2 separate regions of the Homo sapiens genome follow, and region 1 is linked to region 2. Evidence: promoter capture Hi-C in human tissues and cell types (Jung and others, 2019). All regions are on one chromosome and are shown on one strand. The core of a region is centred on a gene start or on the middle of the fragment in contact, and the rest is flanking DNA. Distances in the headings are between cores, read along the strand shown. Region 1 overlaps RFX3 (regulatory factor X3). Region 2 holds the start of PLGRKT (plasminogen receptor with a C-terminal lysine).

Region 1 (7,171 bases), core at 1,093-3,592, 1.9 Mb after region 2:
TTGTTAGGGACAGATGGCTGCTTTAAACAGGTGTCACTTTCATTTTTTACTGCATTGTGTTGGGACTTCCAGTGGTTGACAAAAGGGCTGTCTAAAGCAGGTGGCATCCTTTGCTTTTGTTGTTAGTAAAATCTACTTTTAGAGTTTTCTAGGAAAAGTTTTTTTTTTTTAAAGTAAAAGTTTTGAACTACTCAAGATTCGTAATTTAACATAACTTTTATTTCTGAATATTCTATTTTTAAGTGGTAGAACCTGCAGATTCTTTCACAAAACACTTATCAATTCTTATAAATAATGGTAAATTCCCTTTGAATCCAGAAAAAGTACACAGGAACATTTTACACACCCAAGTCAAACCCCAAGGCCAATTTGAATAAAGTGAAATTTGGTTAACATGACAAGTTAACTTTTGTCATCCTTTACTGAAATAATTTTTTGACAGCATTTTTTATATGTTGGAAATAGGTGTTGTTTTTGTTGGTTAAGTATTTTCAAACTAAGACATTTCCTGACTTCATTTACTGCTATAAAGTTTATAGTGATCTTTTAAAATGATAATATTTTTAAGTATTAATGTTCAAAAATATGTACTGCAGTAAATAAAAAAACTATCAACCTATTGATTTCTAAGGTTCACTTTTACTCTACAATTCTGTCCTTTTCTGTGGGAATTTTATATTTCTTATAACAGATGCACCAGAGGGTGCTGTGCTGTTTGCAACATGAGATTATTATCACTAAGAATGTGAACTCACTAGAACTTTTATTTAAAGAAAAAAATTTTTAATTATATATGCATTGAAGCATATAATAGGCTTATTTTTATGGAGTTTAACATACTATCTTAATTGGCAGTTTTACATCAGAACCTAACTTCGTGTACTAATACATATTACCGCAACATATAACAATATAAAGATTGATATCTTTGGCACTGTCTGGCATTAGTCCTATAGGCATATATGTTGATTATCTTATGTAGATATTTTAATCTTTATTTCAAAACTTAGGTTACCCTGAGAATCATACTATTTGGCGATATGTGGCTTTATACTTCTTAAATTTCATATGATTAGCACATATCAATAATTGTCCATTCTTATAACACTTTTACATGGCATAGTGATATGCTTTTTATTGTATAATCTTTAAAAAAACCACTGGAAAAATAAATGGCAATAGTGGTTATCAGGCTAATTCATAATAAAATAGTATTGACATTATCTAGATAATTCTGGCTGGTTGTATTGGTTCACATTTATAATCCCAACACTTTGGGACTGAGGCAGAAGGATCACCTGAGGCTATGAGTTCAAGAGCAGCCTGGGCAACATAGCAAGATTTCATTTCTGTAAAAAAAAGTAAAAGAAAATTAGCCAGCCTTGCCGGTGCGTGCCTGTAGTTCAAGCTACTCAGGAGACTGAGGTGAGAGAATTTTTTAGCCCAGGAGTTTCAGGTTACAGTGGGCTATGATCATGCCACTGCACTTTAGCCTGGGTGACAGAGCAAGACCCTGTCTCAAAACACCAAAAACAGAAACGAATGCAATCCGTACTTCATGCTGTTGGAATAGGCTAGTTTGATTGTTTAATTTGGCTTATTATCTGAAAACTTTTAGGTTCCCAGCCCTACTGTGTGCCATATACTTTTAAACTGGGAGTGATCTTATATTGCTTTTTGTATTTTATTTGTTCAGTGAGAGATTTTTAGGAGAATACTGAATCCAATCTTGGGCTACTTCTTGTATCATCGACTCTTTTCACAGCAATATATACTCTAAAAGACATACTGAAACAGTGATACCTTCCTTAAGTAAGCTTAGAAAGATACAGTTACAGCATATAAACTTTTTAATCTTGATAATGGATTTATCTGTACTAGTCCATATTTTACTATAATTAGTTAATTGTGATATTTTTATAAAGTAAGCTTACAAGGCATAGTAGTTCATGTGTGTTAGACTGCCTCAAAGAATCCAAAACATTTATTAAAGTAACACTATGTTTAAATACTGGTCTTGCTAAAATAGGTTAGGCATTTTTCTTTAAAAATATAGTCCTACAGTTTACCAGTTAGTTTTTGCCACTAAGATTTTTCCTTTTTTGAAACAGGGTTTTGCTCTGTCACTCAGGCTGGAGTGCAGTGGCATAGTCATAGCTCACTGCAGCCTCAATCTCCTGGGCTCACGTGGTCCTCCTGCCACAGCCTCCTGAGTAGCTAGGACTACAGGCTGTTGCCATCATTTTAAAATTTAAAACATTTCAATTTTTTTTTTTTTTGTAGAGACAGGGTCTTGCTACATTGCCCAGGCTAGATTTTTGAAAGTATACTTTATAGCAAGTTGTATTGCTTCAAAATCTTTATATTTGTAGTTTTTATTTCGTATCAAATGCAGAGTGTTCTTAGTGAAAACAAATCAGTTAAAAATGGAAACGTGTTTAGAGTATCAATAAATAGGTATAAATAGGTTTTGTTCTTTAAATAGATGGATAGAATAAGTATACTGGTGAATAACAGGCTTTGGAGTCAGATTTCAGATAATCTCATTAGTTGTGTGACTTTGGACAAGTTATTACCTTCACTTAACCTCAGTTTTCTCATTTGAAAAATAGGATCAATCTTCCCTGCCTTATGGGGTTTTGTGAGGATTAAAGGAGATAATTTATGTAACGTACTTTGCTCAGTATTTGACACAATATGTGTTCAATACGCGTTGGCTTTATTTTTAGGGAAGGCTGAGAAAATACCTATTCTAATCTTTTTGCTACCTAAGAATCCTTTGACCATCCCTTTTTTAATGAGCCCAAAAAGTTTTGAAAGACTTTGCTTACCAATTTATACTCATTAAATAATAATTATTCTTTTTCCTCCACTTTAAAAAATAAGGCACAGACAAGCTGCCAATCACAGGCTTGGATTATCATTTGATAACCAGTCTTATCACACTGAATTAATAGAATGCTAGCCCAAAGTTATGTTTTAGTTTTACTCTGCAGCCTTATAATGGGCTCCTTTTACTAGGTTTGCATAACTCTCCTGGTCAAAGGATTTTAGATTAAGAACTAATGATGTAATATGTCATTATCTGTTATACTCCCATTGTCCAGTTCATTGTCCCACTTATATTTTTATTTTCACGTTATACATGAATTATTTGAAAACAGTCTGAGCCCTATTTATAAACTTTATACTGAATGTAGTCAGTAAAGTTTAATAATAATAAATAGTCTAGTCAGTTGTGTAAAGATGAGTTTATCAAAGAATTATTCTACATTTTTATAATGCGTTGCTTAGAATTGTTACTTTACTAAGGGTAGAAAAATGTGTGAGGTTACTACTTGTGTACCTACAGCAATAAATAATTTTGGGATGATTTGTCAATCCCAATCTTGAGTTGTAAAGTAACCTTGGAACATTATTTAGTGTAATATATAATATGAAATCATAGAGGAAATATATCACCTGTGGCTTCCTTTCATTAGATATTAAAGATGTTTAAGTAACATTTTCAAGTTGGCTGCTTAATTATTAAAGTTGCTATTCAGTAATTTCCTTTATTTCTATATTTTTCCTGAACATTTTCATCAGAATGAAATACTTTTCTCATTTTAGAGTGATCTATAAACAGTCCTAATCTTTCTCAAACTGGAAATTTGACTTATATATTTCAGTTGAGAATTTACCTGATACTATATGTCTTTTCTTTTTTGCCAAAGCATTGTATATTGTACAGATGTTTGTCTGTGTCACTCATTTCACCATTCTCCCCACTCCCGTTAAGTGTTTAGTTATATGACCCCCTTTGCGTTATTTTTGTAGATAATTAGCCCCAACATATCAATTAGACTGACTCTCAGCTTAGCCACCTCCTCTGCTTCCTTTCGCCAGTGAATTTGACACAGATTTAAAAGGAACTTTTGGGAAAAGTTTAGGAAATGTGATTTGGATGGTCAGGTTATGCAGTCATACATTACTTAATGATATGGATATGTTCTGAGAATTACGTAGTTAGGTGATTTCATCATTGTGTGAACATCATAGAGTGTACCCAACACACACCTAGATGGTATAGCCTGCTACACGCCTATGCTATATAGTATAGCATATTGTTCTCGTCTATAAACCTGCGTAGCATGTTATTGGACTGAATACTGTAGGCACTTGTAACTCAGAGATAAGTATTTGTGTATCTGAACATATCTAAACGTAGAAAAGGTAATGCATTGTGTCAAGATGTTTAGTTGGTTATGATGTCACTGGGCTATAGGAATTTTTGAGCTCCATTTTGTTATGGGATGTGGTTTGTTGTTGACAGAAATGTTATGTGGTGCGTGACTGTATGGTTATTCTTACCATTTCCGATAGTCTATTATTATCTTACAATTTCTACTCATCTGACTGTCCTCTTGGACAAATTTATAACCTTGTTCCACTAACTATGTAATTTGAGTGTGGTTTTGATTCAGAAGGCTCCCTTCTTAGTCCTGGCTATGTACTGGCCTCTGGCTAAGTACCTTAGGGTTAAATCTGTAGTCCATAAACACTGTGTTTGCACAATCACAGATGCCTGCTGTTGTTGACTTTTAATTCCTGGATTCTCCTTTCTCACTTTTATTAGAAGCAGTAATACCCAGCTAGTACTGCTTGCCTTTGCTTTAGAGTGCTTGGTCAAGATTTCTGAAGGTTCTTGGTAATTCCTGTTTAGGCAAAAATGAGGTATTGGGTAATAGGAGTTGAGCTTAGGAAAACTAATAGAGTGAGACAGCTGTCCTCAAAATAATAGTGTGTTAGTTGGTAAGAGGAGACAGATACAGTGAAAGATGATAAAAGGAGAAAGGACAGCGAGTGACCAGGCCAAGATATAAAGGACTTCAAAAATGCTAGCCAAAGGAGGTTAAAGAGAAAATAAAGGTTCTCACTCTATTTCTAACTGTAAAACCTTAGCCTGGTCACTTATACCCTATAGGTCTCAGTTTCTCCATCTGTAACATGAAACAATAGGGCTATGGGATTTCTAAAGCCCTTTCCAATCTATGATTCTGTAGCAAGATTGACACTGGGAAAGGGAAGGAAACATGCCAATAACATGGAGCCAGGAATTGGCATTTCCCTTACTCATGTTCTCAAAGGCTAGCAAGTTGTTTGCTTATTGTTTCTTCTGGTAAGAACAAGAAAGAAAGAAAACCCACAGCCTGGTGCTAGCATAATGGCCATACCTATAGCAAAGTCTCAGAAGGTTCCACCATTTCAATGGCTTCTGTAGAGAGTGGTGGCCAAGTGCCCTCATTTTCTCACCCACATAGGAATTAGCTGAGTCTCACAGCTTGAGCTCCTGCCGGAGCCAGCTTCTCTATGTGTGTGTGCCAGACAAGTGTCTGACATTTGGGGCTCCTCCTGTCTGTTGCTCACCAATGAGATATTTAAAACAGGACATAATTTCCCGAGTATGTGGATAGGCAATTTAACAGAGAGAGAGAGAGAGAGAGAGTGCGAAAGCGAGCTAGTGCATGTGTGCTCTCTGATCAGAATAAAAATTAATTTAGGTTTCTGTTGATCTCATTTTTAAGACATTTCTTCCCCAATTATTGAAGCTATTCAACTGGTTTTTAAGAAGAGCTAAAAATCCCGTCAAGGTCTAGACAAGCTCCGAGAGCCTTTGGACTACTTTGGGGTCCCTGGTCTGGAAAGCATTGCTATCCTCCACACTAGTCTCATATTTTTCCATCGGTAATAGTTACTGCTTTTCTTTTTCTTAATATTGTTTATACTTGGATAAGCATTCTTTTAATTCAGCTTTGGTAGCAGAAAAATAGTCTTTTGTTTAAGAAGTATACATTTTCTTAAATTTTAAAAAATTTTTAGTTTAGGCTGGGTGCGGTGGCTCATGCCTGTAATCCCAGCACTTTGGGAGGCTGAGGCGGGTGGATCACGAGGTCAGGAGATCTAGACCATCCTGGCTAACACGATGAAACCCCGTCTCTACTAAAAATACAAAAAATTAGCTGGGCGTGGTGGCGGGCGCCTGTAGTCCTAGCTACTCGGGAGGCTGAGGTGAGAGAATGGTGTGAATACAGGAGGTGGAGCTTGCAGTGAGCCGAGATCACGCCAGTGCGCTCCAGTCTGGGCAACAGAGCAAGACTCCATCTCAAAAAAAAAAATTTTTTTTTTTACTTTAATACTACTTTGGTTAGTAGACTTCTCAAGATTTTAGAACATAGCAGGCTAAAAGAGGAAGCATTTTTGCATTTATTCAGGATAAGTCATATATTCTGCTGTAACTCAACTCTTTTACCAGCCTAATAGGGGAGTATATTAAAGCTTAGATTGTAATTATTGATTTAAAAAATTTATTTTTGAATGCTTTGTTTTTTACTGATTAACTTAGACATTTTCAAGTTTCTGGACTACATTCAGATTTGCATGCCTAATAGCATTTGTGTATTTCAGTATAACTTTCATCTTTAAAATATATCTCATCCCCTTCAGTCTCAGTCAGCATAGTTTACTTTAATGTTCAAAACCATTTTAGAGATTCTTTGCTTGTCAGTTAAGTTTCCTCCATGTTTTAGTTGTGGAGGAATGGGGGAGGTTGCTGTAGAAGGGCAGGAAAAGCAGATACATTTAGGAATCATATCCTGTTTCTATTGTTAGACATCAGTGCATTACATATTTTCCCCAGTTAATTTTCCTGGACCATTAAGTTTAGGCGGGTGTGGGGGCTTGAGGTGGGACTTACGGGGCGTAGGGAGGTGGGAGACAGAAGACTCAGGTGATCCAGTATTTCTTCCAGATTTCTTTCCTTACCTACTGTAATATTGTGCAGAATACATCTATTTTTGTGAAGACGGGCATTCTGTTTAATTTTGTTAGTGATTCCTTTTTTCCAAAGAATCAATATATCTGTATATATCTATCCATTAGTATATTAGTAGATGGAAAATAATATCTTTCTTTTTTAAGGAACCTGAATTTTGATTTAGTCATGCACAAATTTTAGAAAGGAATTAAAAAGACTGGTGAGAAAATCTAGTTCATAAGCAAGGTAACAGTAGTGATGCCTTAAATCTACCTCTTTATGTTTTGCTTTGGATAAATGGTTTTGTGGATATATGTTTTTGCATTAGAATTTAGGTTTTCCCCTGATACTATTTATGCTATTTTAAATAACCAA
Region 2 (7,072 bases), core at 4,315-6,814:
ATATTAGCTCATTTAAATCTTACAACAATCCTGTAAGGAAGGTACTATTATTGCCTCTATTTTAGAGATGTGGACACTGAGGCACAGAGCTTTAGTAACTTGTCTAAACGACACAGCTAGGAGATAGCACAGCTGGGATTCGAACCCAGACATCTGGTTCCAGTGTTTATGCTCTTAACTATTGTGCAAAGGTATAGTGAAATCAGCATCCTTATTCACTGCTGGCATGGTGTATTTGTTCAACTCCAAAAAGTTAAATGCAGAGTTACCATATGACCCAGCAATTCTGCTTTTACATATATACCCAAGAGAATTGAAAACATACGTTCATACAAAAACTTAGCAGCATTATTTATGACAGCAAAAAAAATGGGAACAATCCAAATGCCCCACAATTTTGAATGGATAAACAAAATGTGGTATATCCATACATTGGAACATTAATCAGACATAAAAAGAAATGAAGTACTGGTACATGCTACAACTTGGATGAACCTTGATCATACTAAGTAAAAGGAGCCAGACACAAAAGGCCATAGATTGTAGGCTTCCATTTATATAAAATGTCCAGAATAGGCAAATCTATAAAAACAAAAAGTAGGTTAGGGGTCCCCAGAAACTGGGGGAATGGGGAGAATGGGGAGTTTGGGGAGTGGCTGCTAATAGGTATGAGGTTTCTTTCTAGGGTGAAGAAAATGTTATGGAATTAGATAATGGTGGTGGTTGTACAACTTTTTGAATGTATGAAAAACCAATAAATTGTACAATTTAAGGTGGTACATTTTATGGTTGTGAATTACATATCTTAATCTTAAAAATCTCTAGGTAGGGAGAGAACAGGATCTGAGTCCACTGATGCCATTATATTACACTGCCACATGGTGTCACCGTTGAGGAATGGATGAAGTCCAAAGAAGGCTTACACAAAGCTTGTGTCCAGGTCATGCCCAAGCTACAGAGGTGCCCCAGGATTGGAGTGAAGGTTAAAATCCAGAATTTGGGGAGCACCATCCCAGAATGGTTTAATATTAAGGAGGTTCTAGCCTCAGCCCCACACTGTGCAACTATTTGCAGTCCTTCACAGACCGAAGTTCTTGGCTAAACCTGGTTCCCAGCTCAATGGGGAAATTCAAATCCTTGTGAAAGCATCTCTGTTAAAAGGAGACACTGCTAGGCACATCTTAAACTTCCAAACACTTTATTTTTTGAAAAACTGCTTCTTTATGGAGGTCCAAGGAAATATTGGGCAATTTTTACTGTCCTGGGATAGGGAGCATCAAATGAGTTGAGGATTTTACATCAATTTTCTCTAAAATATTTATACTACTTAACTCAGTGTATACATATGCATGTGCATATATATATGTGTTTATATATATACACACGTATATATACACACATGTATATACGTGTGTATATACACACATGTATATACGTGTGTATATACACACGTATATACGTGTGTATATACACACATGTATATACACACATGTATATACGTGTGTATATACACACGTATATACGTGTATATATACACACATGTATATACGTGTATATATACACATATGTATATATGCGTATACACACATGTATGTATATATACACATACATACGTACATATACATATACATACATATGTATATATACACATATGTATATATATATGTATACACACATATGTATATATACATATATATACTGAGAAATATCCAGCAATGGAAGTTGTTACATACACACTTATTGAAAATCCTTTAGCTGTTAAAAATGGTAAATATAAATGCAATGTAGCAACATAAAAATCCTTATGTTATAATGCAAGATGATATAAAACACATATTTATATATATGCATAAAAATGTACACATATATATTCACAAATTCATACAACTGAAAATAATTCACATACCAGTTAAAGTTATATGCCATTTGATTCTGAAATAAATTTCCTTTAACCCTCTTACTCCACATTTTATAAAATGTGTCCAATATCTATACCAAGACTTTTTTTTTCAATTTCCTGGGCATATTTTTCTATGGTCACTTTTTTCACTTATGTTTTAAAATTATGAAAAACATCATACATACAAGAAAATTTATAATGTGTGTTTTCGGTTTAACATGTATCCATCAGGAATCAGAATTTTACTCAGTTGGTTTGATTAAAGAGATATTAGTGAAGACACTACTTAAAGGAGTATGACTAAGAGAACCATCCAGTTGAGTCATCCAGAGTCTAGCAACAGCAGGAAGACTGCGCTCTCTCTAGGCTACATAGCAAAGGAGAAAAGTGTTTCCAGAGCCCATGGAGCTGGAGCCATGGAGAAGGGACTGCTTGCCAAGAGCTGCAATTGTGGAGAAACACAACCACCACCAGATACTCAGCCCCAAACAGAGAAAGAACAGAGAAAATATACCCTGATGTCTTTTTCCTCCTGCCTCCCATCTCCCTGAATGCCTCCCGCTGTCCAAACTCAAATGGAAACCAGCTGAGGAGAGCCCAGGTGGTGCCGTCCAAAGAGGTCAGCTTTGGGGTATAGAACAGGGCAGGGAAGTGAGGAGAATGAATATGATGGAAGGCAAACAGAAAACCTAGACAGTCTAATTGTTTTGTCACCCAGAATTTATTCTTTTCCTTTGCTCAGATGAAGAGCAGCTCATCCCTTACATATGAGAATGACAGAGTCTGACAAGATTTCTCCTCGACCAAACTTTAGTCAGGCTCCTCTAAGCCATCTCCTTGATTAGATATTGACCTTGGGCTGCAGTGTTCATCCTTGCAGAATCAGTGTTGGCAAGAATCCTGCTAAGTCAGTTTAGAGAGGATCTTCCCACCCTGAATGTTTGACCACTCTCAATATCTGATCAAATTCCTTACCCCCACCAGCCCCCAGGTGATGTCTGCTTACCCTGGCCTACCTTTAGCAAGAATCCTGTTAGGTCAGTTTAGCAAGGATTTCCCCTACCCTTGCTGTCTCTTCTTAGTAATTTTCCATCCACGGACCCCACCCCCATCCACACAACCTGCTCCTCGGCTATAAATCCCCACTTATCCTTACTGTATTCAGAATTGAGCCCAGTTCTTTACCAAGGTCTCTTTCCCCCTATTTCAAAAGTTGCTGAATAAAAATCTATTTTTACTGCTACAGCTATTGTCCAGCTTTGATTTTCCTTAACAAGCCTCATCAGCTGCCATATTGCCTTGAGGGGATGTCAGTTCAGGCACATTCTCACCCAGAAACTAAATTGTAATATTTATCTCCACCACTACTCTTTATGCAGGGTAATAGGAAAAGAGAGTCAGGGAAGAAGTAATTAACATTTTAAATGGAGAGCTACTATAATTCCTGCCTCTAGAGCTTGTTGCAAGGCTAAAATTAATAATCATAGCTTCCTACTCATTTACTTATGTATGTTTCCCCTGCCCTATGCCAACACCTAGGTAGATCAGGATTTTTTTATCTGGTATGCTTCAACACTTTAATTTCTTCATGATCTGAAATTTCTGCATTACTTCAGTTATCTGATAATCATTATTATGGCACACGGCAGTATTAAGAAGTGCCCAGTGAATCTCCAGGTGTCATGCATAGTTCTTCTTGCCCTCAATATATAGATGTAACCCAATTTCCTTTTGGTATTTGGGATGAATCATACCATTCTGTCACTGTGAGGAATCAAAGTGACCAGAGGGCAGTTTCAGCTTTCGAATCAATGAATTGAAATTCAATTCAATTCAGTGACGGGGTCTTCTAGTGGCAGCATTCCTTCCTTTGGATCTAGGCTTCCAAACACAATAAACCCAAGGTTGTAGAAATGGTGTGCTGGAATACTATGCAGCCATAAAAAATGATGAGTTCATGTCCTTTGTAGGGACGTGGATGAAGCTGGAAACCATCATTCTCAGCAAACTATCGCAAGGACAAAAAACCAAACACCGCATGTTCTCACTCATAGGTGGGAATTGAACAATGAGAACACTTGGACACAGGAAGGGGGACATCACACACCGGGGCCTGTTGTGGGGTGGGGGGAGGGGGGAGGGATAGCATTAGGAGATACACCTAATGTAAATGACAACTTAATGGGTGCAACACACCAACACGGCACATGTATACATAGGTAACAAACCTGCACGTTGTGCACATGTACCCTAGAGCTTAAAGTGTAAAAACAAACAAAAAAAAGAAATGGTGTGCTGGATATTTTCTATTTCTCCCTCCAGGCATTGTGCCTAGTAGGCTGACCTCTACAGACTACACAGACCTAGCTCCACTGTCTTCTGGCTTCCTGGTGGATCCAGCCAGCGGAAGACCCCAGCTGGATATCAGAGCTGGGAGAACAGAGAGGTGGGTCTTCTCCACTCTGTCCCTGCTTTGGGCTGACGTCTCAGCACTGGCTACAACTATAGAATCTCACCTTACTTGGTGAAAAGTTGGCATTGCTTGCTTTCCTCTACTGAACGACACGGTTCCAGTTGGTTACTCTCTCGTACAGCCACAGCTACCGCTCTCGCTCTCGCCTGGTTTTAGTAACTGCTTCCTTCCCCCACCCCTCAGCCCTATAGTTACTAACAGCTCCCCGCTGTTACTGGTTACTACTGGTTACGGAAGGCGAACTATGTGCCCGACACTGTGCTAAATGCCCACATATATTATCTTTTAGTCCTCACAATCCAATAAATTAGATGGCTTTAGTCCTGTTGCAGAGGTGATAAATTCAGAGTGACAGTGACAGAGCTAGAAATTGAAGGTAGGTGTGTTTATGCTAGAGTCTGTGCACTCAAACACGATTCCTTACTTCTTGCATCAGTTGTTAACCTCCCTTCAAGAGTGTCAAACCTCCTGGTAACCCGCCCATTCCCTTAACTGGAAATGAGGGTGCTGTTGCAATTTTCTCATCCAGCCATTCCACAAATGGTATCTGGAATGTGGGACCCACAGTCCAGAATCCTGAGGGCTGCTGTTGAGAGCATCAAGACGCGCCCAGGAGGTCAGGGCGGTGTGCACTCACACGCTGAGCCTGGAGAAAGTTAGACGCCTTCTCCACCGCTGTGGTGGTTAGCAGGGACTTTCCTGAAGGCCAGAGACTGGTGACGTTCATGCTATTTTTCCAAGCCATTTGGTAGCAAAGAACAGAGTGCCAACAATTCAAGCATTCTCTCAGGCTGGGAGAGAGACGTGGCTTATTCAAGATAGAAATTGCTGGTGAGGTTGAGGCGAGACCGACATCTCTCTGAGCAGCAGGGGAGAAAGACGGCTCTGTTCAAAAAAGAATGGGTAATTTCAGTCAATTCTCTTCTTTCTCGTTTCTGTCTTATCTTTATGACTTTTTAATAGTGCCAATTTAACAGATGAGGGGACAGAGGCCTTTAATTGAGAATTCCACTCCGCTTCCTCTGCCTCATCTCAAAAATCTGGCAGCTGAGTCGCCGCGGCTTTGAATTTGCCTCTTTTGACCTTCCCCTCCCACCTCTGGTAACACTGAGCCTGGCCCGGAAGGACACACCCGGCTTCTGGCGGAAGTGCCGGCTCTTTAAAGAAGCTGAGGGCTGCGCGAATTGGCTGAGGTGCGTCATCTACTGTGTCTGGGCGCCAATCCCGACGCTGGGCGGAGCGAGGCCCGGTCCCTGCAGCGGGCGAAAGGAGCCCGGGCCTGGAGGTTTGCGTACCGGTCGCCTGGTCCCGGCACCAGCGCCGCCCAGTGAGTGAACACCGGCCGCAGGCGGGTGGGGAGAAGGGTCAGCCCGGCCATGTCAGTCAGCGCGATCTCCTGGGCTCCGGGCTTGCCAGGCAGCGCTGGGCGCCCGCTCCTCGTGAGCGCCGGCTCTTGGCTCTCGCACTGCCCCTGGTGCTGATAGGTATTGCCAACTTCGTTCCATTAGAGCGCGTTCTTGTCGCCTGGCGTGGACTCCGGATCTCTCCGTAGCTTTAAAATAGAGTTGAGAAAAACAGGCACAGTGCTCTCAACAGAAATCAGCACACTATTGCGGGGAATACCTAAATTACAGTAACTGGCCTCAGGGAGCAAGGGCGGTGTTAATTACAGAAAACCTCCGGAAGCTGTGGGCTCTGGGCTGGAATTTGCAAGGGGATGTGGCTTAATTTCAATGGGATGCAAATATTGAAAATGACTGTGGTGAGACGATCAGTCATACATTCAGGCAATGTGTCATCTGATCGGGAAATAAGTCAGCGTGGTAATCCCGATGACAGAATTCATGCAATTAATTTTTTATGTCCCCCCAAGTAAAATCAAATCTAGGTACTCACGGGTGACCGGAAGAAAGGTTGTCTGGAACTTGCAGGCACCACTTCTCCTCCCCAGAAATACACCTTCCCATAGTAATCTATAGCTCACCTGAGGCAGGGCTGAAGCATTAAAGACCCCTTCCAAGATCTCAGAAGGAATCAAAGGGAAAATGAAGACAGAGGGATTGAAATCAGCATTCTCTGCAAAACATCACTCTGAGACACAGTGATGTTTAAAATTGTATAAGTAGCAAGACATTTTTTTTTACCCCTGGTGAAAAGTGTTAGAATTTTTAAAAGACTTAACTTATACAAGTGAGTGAAATCAAAGTTATCCCTATTGCAAGGTCAATTTTGCTTATTTTCTGATACATATTTTGTGAGCAAGAGGAGATAGCTGAAAGTGTTCTGGACACCCTACGGAATATTCCCAGACTTTGGGAAATGACTTTGCCAGGAATGGGGAAGTTGGGAAAGGAAAGAATGTTGAAAATACTGAACTCCAGGGTGAAATTTACAAGGTGTGATGCATTTATTTATTCTCAGGTGTGGTTTCCCATAAGGAAGCTCTTCTTCCTGCTTGGCTTCCACCTTTAACCCTTCCACCTGGGAGCGTCCTCTAACACATTCAGACTACAAGTCCAGACCCAGGAGAGCAAGGCCCAGAAAGAGGTAAATCTAAATACTAACTTCCCAGACAGTGTTTCTTTCCCAGATGATTGACATGAGGACTCTCTCTTTTCAGGGGAGATCCTAACCCCTTACAAACAGGAGCACTTGAAAGCACACAGCTCTGTGATATACAGGGTATGTGGAGGAATAGT

Evidence for each region. The method cuts DNA at HindIII sites, captures the fragments that hold promoters and counts their contacts. A contact is called where the count stands out against the background at its distance.
Region 1: a fragment that was not itself captured here is called in contact with the fragment with the promoter of PLGRKT in region 2 in 1 of the 25 tissues and cell types used here (lymphoblastoid cells).

Annotation. Positions count from the first base shown.
Region 1 is chr9:3,515,043-3,522,213 of GRCh38, reverse strand. The region is part of intron 1 of RFX3 (regulatory factor X3); the gene reads left to right. Among named protein-coding and RNA genes, the nearest start is that of RFX3, 7.4 kb to the left of the region's middle. The HindIII fragment of the contact is 3,565 bases long and covers 560-4,124 here.
Region 2 is chr9:5,436,417-5,443,488 of GRCh38, reverse strand. PLGRKT (plasminogen receptor with a C-terminal lysine) reads left to right here and starts at 5,564. Exons shown (of 6, transcript NM_018465.4): 1 at 5,564-5,700; 2 at 6,795-6,920. RefSeq lists enhancers at 4,198-4,357, 5,918-6,007, 5,063-6,262. The HindIII fragment of the contact is 22,053 bases long and covers 1-7,072 here.